2 separate regions of the Homo sapiens genome follow, and region 1 is linked to region 2. The links are contacts of gene promoters, found by promoter capture Hi-C in blood cells and fetal thymus (Javierre and others, 2016). All regions are on one chromosome and are shown on one strand. Each heading gives the region's core, a stretch centred on a gene start or on the middle of the fragment in contact. The rest is flanking DNA. Distances are from core to core; before and after follow the strand shown. Region 1 holds the start of C12orf75 (chromosome 12 open reading frame 75). Region 2 holds the start of NFYB (nuclear transcription factor Y subunit beta).

Region 1 (3,224 bases), core at 594-3,093, 1.2 Mb after region 2:
AGGTGTCAAGGTCCATTTTCTGTCTCTTACAAGTGTCCTAAGGCTGGAGTCTAGTGTCAGCACAGAAATAAGCAGGAGAATATCTTTCGGCTACTTGATAGTTCCCTTTTCCCCAGTTCTGGCTATGTATTAGGATGGACACTGAACCAAGACAGCACAGGCTGGTAGAGAAGCAGTACTTCTAGAAGTCAACTAAAAAATGCCTTTATTTATCCAAGAATTAATTATCCTCTCAGCACATGGCTACCACAGCTAATTTTCAAATGGAGAATGCTGTATATTTTGCATCCTGAATGATAGAACGCACCATTGCCTCAAAGGCCATGTTCAAAAACCTGCCAAGTCCTTGATTCTGGTTCATATTTTTATTTTTATGTAAACACAACAGTATGGTTTCAGGGAAGTCTGTTTTTTTTTTGTTTTGTTTTGTTTTTTTGAGACAGAATCTCGCTTTGTCACCCAGGCTTGAGTGCAGTGGTGCTATCTCGGCCCACTGCAACCTCCACCTCTCAGGTTCAAGTGATTCTCTTGCCTCAGCCTCTTAAGTAGCTGGGATTACAGGTGTATGCCACCACACCCAATTAATCTTTGTATTTTTAGTAGAGACAGGGTTTCACCATGTTAGGCTGGTCTCGAACTCCTGACCTCGTGATCCGCCCGTGTCAGCCTCCCAAAGTGCTAGTTTACAGGTGTAAGCTACCATGCCTGGCCTTAGGCAAGTCTTTTAACTAGCATCCCAGCATCCTCTGGGACTCTATGGCACCTGTATTCCTCTGTTAACATTCCTTCTATATTGTAATTAATTTATTTTAATCTATCTGCCTGGTTAGACTGTCTCCCACATATTTGTATCCCCGGAACTTAACAAAGGACTTGGCACAGGCTAGGCTCCCTACAAATATTAAGTGAATTTAAAATGGAGCTTTAATTCCTGGCTTGAAGTCACCTCACAAAACATTTAGTGAGTCTGTATTACAAGCCAGGAGGACGCTATGAAAAATCAGATAGTCTTTCCCTTTAAGGAATTTGTATTCATTTCTATTAGAGTTAATAATAATAATGATAATAGCTGATATTTACTAAAGATAGGGAACTTTGTTAGGTACTTTATATGTACCTGAGTTACTGTCATTTTATAGGTGAAACAAGGGATGTACCCAATGGGTTAAGTTACTTTCCTGAGGTCACGCAGCTATCACGGGGCAGAACGAAGACTTTAACTCAGACAGTCTGACTGCAGTAACGCTGGCCCAACTATCATGTTGAAACGTACAGCACCGTGCCCATCCACAGTTCTCTCATTTATCAGAGAGGAGGTCCTGAATCCAAGTTATTGAAATCGTTGCAGACATTTGTTTTAAAGAGGAATAGGTCAAGATGACCAATCTGGGGAAGAACTTTTGCCAGGCAGTGCGTATGGGGAACAGAGCTGCGTTGGCCTTCTGTTAAAGCAGCTGGGGATTTCGGTTTTGGCTTCAGACCTGCACAACATTCAGTCAATAGCATTTATTGGGCGTCCACTGTGCAGGGTGCCCCCTGCTACTTCCTCTCCTCCCCACATCCTGGGGCAGGGAGGGGAAGTGAGGAAAGAAAAGCAAAGACAAGGCGAGGAGGATGCTGAGGGTGGGCAGGTGGGCACCCCCACCCCGCTGCGCCGGCCACGCCCCTTGCCGCTCCCTCGCCCCGGGGCCCACTTTAAACTCCCGCCCCTCGTAATAACGACCAATGGCCGACCGCGAAGCGCGCAGGAGGCTGGGGATTGGCCAGTGCCGAGGTTGCTGGGGCGACGGGTGGGTCCGGCGGGTCCCCGGGCGGGGCGGGGCCGGGGCGAGGGGTGCCGGGTGGTTTCCGCCCGGCAGCCCGCAGCCCGCTGCGCCCCGGGCCGCGTCTCCCGGCGGTGGGAGGGGGCGGCCCCCACTCGGTTCCTGGCCCCTCGCGGCCCCGTCAGCCTCCCGCTCGGGGTGCGCCGCCCTTCGTCTGGGTCTCCGCCCCCAGGACCCGCGGCCGAGAGCTCCGGAGCGCGGCTTCCCCGGCCGGCTGCGCGATGGGCTGCGGGAACTCCACCGCCACCAGCGCGGGCGCGGGCCAAGGTGAGTCCGGCGGGAGGCGGGGGCCGGCGGGGGCGGGCGGGAGAGGCGGCGGGAAGGAAGGGTGCAGGGATCTTGGGTGGGGGGCGCGCAGCCCCCTCTCCCCGTCCCCATTTTCGGGACAGGAGCAGACCGCCCGTTTCTGGAAAGACCGAAAGCGTGGCAAGTCCCCCGCGCGGGGGCGGTTGCGCCTGGAGCAGTCGAGCCTGCGGGGCGTCTCTGCCGAGGGAGCGCGGGGAGGACTGTCGCGGGCTCCCCTGCAGCCGCCGGGGCTCACCTGCAGCTGGCGGGTCTCAGGGCTCTCCTGGGGGAGAGGATTCCCGGACGTGGTCCCCGGCCGCTCCCCCACCTCCCACACTTGCTCCTCCAGGCCTCTCCCCCATCTCCTCGGAACCAAGGCGCTGCACCTGGAAAAGTGCAGCAGAGCAAGACAGGACTTTTCGGGCAGTGGTGGTGGGGCAGGAAGCGGGGAAGGGTGGGAGTGGGGTTGGGGAGAACTAGAAGCAGAGCTGCAAAAACGCATCTGTGTCTGCCTTGATGCCGAAGACCGGCTGGGCTGCTCTTAGGATTTCTCTGAGAAGCTGCAGCAGTAAGGATGTTTTACATATGTGAGACAGAGCTTTATTATTAACAGTCTGTTAAGATACTTTTCATTAAACACACACACACACACACACACACACACACACAAATAGAAACTTCTTTTTATACCACTTCATGTTGATTGGCAGGCAAGGTCTTCTAGCTTCCCCGGGCCAGCCAGGCTTTGTGTCAAGTGACTTTTGCCAAAACTCACCCTTCTATTTCACCCTGCCTATGTCTCGGGATTTAAGGTACCCTGGATCTGTTTTGAGTAATAACTGCTGACCTATTTCAGTGTCCTTTTGGATAAAGAGCTCCTATCTCCTCCAATTGAAGTCAACCAGATGCCACATCCTAGCCTAACCAGCAAATGCAAACAGCAGTCAGAGGCTGCGGTATTTCCTAGGCGGCTGTGGAGGCCCTGGCAATGACTTTGTAACCTTGGGCCTGTCACATCCCTTAACCCAGACGCCGGTAAAAAATGGAGTTTAAGACTCAATTTGAGTCTTGAATTAAATCCTGTCCTGGTGACAATGCAGAGAGCCACAGGAGAGC
Region 2 (3,434 bases), core at 651-3,150:
AAAAACACATCCTTTCAGTGTTAATTTTAAAGGGAGAAGATATACTGATACGCATCCAAGCATGAAATCTAGCAAATAGCAGAAAAAATTGTAGCCACTGAATTGAAAGTTTTTAATGCCACTAAAAAGGTCCAGGTAGCAAAAACTGCTTGACGTTTGCTATAATATTAAAAGTAATTTATAATTTCTTTTCAAATATTAATAGTATCCTCTAACCCCAAAACTGCTCAGAAAAGTCCTTCCTTGTAACGAGAAATGTTATTTTTTAAAGAGTGTCTTTGAAAAAATAAGCCCTCAGAACACTTAAAACATGGGAGCTATATTTATGTATTTTGCTTGGAATGGGAGAGGGGGGTGTGGGCAGGGAGTCATACCACACCACACTCACTCACCCAAATAGTTGATTCAGTATATATTTAGACTCAGTACATTAAAGAAAAACACTGTCACCTCATATGGTGTATATTTTCTTAAGGGCAGGTTGATATATGTAAAAGCTCAAGGGAATGCATACATCTGTTTAATGTTTTAAGAAATGCAAATTTGTATCCAAGAAAAGCAGTAGTCCCTTCCTCCACCCTCCATTCTTTGGCATCAACAACCAGAGTTTTGCATCAATATACAGTAATCCTTAAATTAAGATACAAGAGCAATGCAGGGAAGGAATAATTTGCCTTTTAAGGAATTTTGGTTAAACTTTCAATACTTTACAAATAAACCCCCCACTGATTAGTGCCACTGATATTGATCCGTTTGCTTTCATCACTTTATGTTGCTGATTAGTTTCCATACTAAGAGAGATGAAACCACCCCAGTGATTTGTAGCACGAACCACGCAACTATGGGGTCCATGCGGGTTAGTGGGATGCCATTTTTTTAAAGGTCGCAGGCTACCTAACCTTGTTTAAATTATCCTGTTAGAGTGCTTTGGGCGAGATTACGATTTGTGGGTGCTCTGTAATTCTTTGTTCTCTAAGACTACCGTTCTTTAAGGCCCTGCATATCCTCCCGCCTCCCACCACTAATGATTAAAACCTTAGTCCAATCCGAAGGGCTTCCTTCCCACCTTCGGGGCAAGTACAGGGACCGCAAACCGCCAGATGGCTGCATTCTTTACGCGCAAACCAGGCTGCGGGGAAGCTAAAGCCATGCCTTCCTCCCCACGCAGGTGCCTGGGTGGCCCCGGCCCCACGGCCTGGTCCCGGCGACCTGTCAGCCCTGCGAGTGCCAGGAGGCCGCCCCCAGAGCGCATCCCCTGACTCGCCCGGCCGCCCCGGCCCCGCGCCCAACGCCTGCCTCCCACCCGCCGCGCGGCCCCCGGGATGTGCGGGCAGACAAAGCGCCGGGCCCCGCCACAGCCCCGCGGGCGGGAGGAGGGCGCCCCCGGGGACTCGCGCCGCCGCCGGGGCTACGGGGCCAGGGCCCGGGCCGCGTCTCCCGCCCCTCGGCCGGCTCCCCGCACAAAATGGAGCCGGCCCGGGACGCCGTCGAGAGCGGGGCCCCGACGCAGCCCCGCGGCCCCTCCTCGGCCCCGGGCCCGGAGCTCAACGGCGGCGAGGGTGAGGTGGCCTGGCCCGCGTCCCGCCGCTCCTCAGCCCGGCGCACAAAGAGCCGCGCCGCGGCCCCGCGCCCGCTCCCCGGCCCGGCCCGCTGCGGGAGCGGCCTCGCAGGCGCGGGGCCCGGCCTCGGCCCGCGCGGGAGGGCGGGAGGCTAGTGCCCCCGGCCGCGGCGGCGTTGGCGGCGGGGACGGCGCCGGGAGGAGACGGACATTTCATTCGAGCTAAAGTGGAGTCGGTTTAGGAGCGATCATTGGCCGAAGCGAGACACAAACCTCCAATGCAGCCCTGGTTGGCTCCCGTCTCCAATCGGCTGTTTGGTTGGACAGAAAATGGCTGCGAAGGAACCAGTCCCAGCGCGGAGCTCCGCTTCCAGGACTCGGCCTCCCCTCCCTCCGCCGCGGGCCGCTTCCCTCGGCGCGACACCCTCCCTCCGCGCCGCCCGCGCGCCCGCCCGCCGCGGCCCCGCCCCGCCCCGCCCCGCCCCCGGCCCCGCCCCGCCCCCGGCCCAGTCCCGCGTTCCTGTGAGGCCTCCGCGCCGCTCCGGATGCCGCTCCTCTAGGCGCGAGGTCTTCCAGGGCCCTGCCCGGGCGCGCCGTTCGGGTCTAGGCGGGCCTCCTTCCCGGTGCTGACCCGGGCCTGTGCGAAGCGGGATCTCTCGGGCGTCCCTCTCTTTGTCACCCCTTCCCCCGCCACGTGGAGGTGCCTCAGCCGCCTGAGCTCAGCCTGCCTGCGCCTGGATTTTTAAGAAGGGGAAACCAAGGACAGAAGCCGCCCCCTAGGACGACGCGCCCGAGCCACCGGGAGGGTCTGAACGGCGGGGGCCTCCTGGAGCGCCTTCAGCGCCTCGTGTTTTCTTTCCTTGGGTCCCTGTTAGCGTCGCCGCATGCACAGCGCTCCCTGTCATTTGGTCCCTGAGCTTGGGTGTTTTTCACATTTCATCTAAAGATGCAGACCCCTGCTAAGTCTAGCCAGCCTTCACCCTGAATCTTGAACTTAAGATGCTGCATTTTCCACCCACCCCCACCCCTCTAGTAGCTGCAGATTGACAAGCGGCTTTTCCCAACCAGATGACATTTTGGCTGCAAGAATCCGTGGCCCGTTCTTGCCTCTGTGCAGCCAAGCTCCTTCGCTGTCTTTCTCAAACTGCAGTCCTGAGTTCAGCTTCGCTTAGCAGTGACCATCCCAGAGGTGGGTAATCCAACACTGGATCCACTCACTGCAACCGGAGCTGGGGATGGCATGCCCTCTGCTTCCACTAACCGAGTGGCCTGCACCACATTAAACTCTCCAGCTTTGATTATGTAAAAATACAGAGATCTTTTATTTATAGAGTTCCTACTGTTTCTCAGAGTATTTAAACATTTCTGCGGCAAGTATGGAAGAAAAGACAAATGAAAGCCCCAAATTGTGACAAGAGGAGTAAGTAGCAATGCCACTGTCATCAGACAACCTGACTTGAATTCCAACTCCCCTTCTTACAGGCTTGTGATCTTGGCCAAATGTCTGCTTCTCAGGGTTGTTTGGGATAATGTATACATAGAAAGCCCTTTAAAAAAAAAAAGTTATCCCAGCACTTTGGGAGGCCGAAGCAGGCCGATCACCTGAGGTCAGGAGTTCGAGACCAGCCTGACCAACATGGCGAAACCCCGTCTCTACTAAAAATACAAAAATTAGCCGGGCGTGGTGGTGGGCGCCTGTAATCCCAACTACTCAGGAGGCTGAGGCAGGAGAATCGCTTGAACCCGGGAGGCAGAGGTTGCAGTGAGCCGAGATCACACCATTGCACTCCAGCCTAGGCGACAGAGCAAGACTCCATCTCAAAAAAAAAAAAAAAAAAAGTTATCCTAAGATCTTTATATAGCATGAATTTCTTCA

The links. Contacts are between HindIII fragments. The CHiCAGO score rates a contact against its expected background, and 5 or more counts as called.
Region 1: a contact is called between the fragment with the promoter of C12orf75 here and the fragment with the promoter of NFYB in region 2, in 3 of 17 cell types (fetal thymus, total B cells and non-activated CD4 T cells). The highest score is 8.3, in fetal thymus.

The regions. Positions count from the first base shown.
Region 1 is chr12:105,328,848-105,332,071 of GRCh38, forward strand. C12orf75 (chromosome 12 open reading frame 75) reads left to right here and starts at 1,844. Exons shown (of 6, transcript NM_001145199.2): 1 at 1,844-2,090. The coding sequence starts at 2,045. RefSeq lists silencers at 1,480-2,139, 2,170-2,269 and an enhancer at 2,926-3,224. The HindIII fragment of the contact is 8,522 bases long and covers 1-3,224 here.
Region 2 is chr12:104,136,310-104,139,743 of GRCh38, forward strand. NFYB (nuclear transcription factor Y subunit beta) reads right to left here and starts at 1,901. Exons shown (of 8, transcript NM_006166.4): 1 at 1,832-1,901. RefSeq lists enhancers at 460-1,053, 1,054-1,645, 2,469-2,638 and silencers at 1,265-1,394, 1,455-1,534, 1,635-1,734, 1,785-2,084. The HindIII fragment of the contact is 8,431 bases long and covers 1-3,434 here.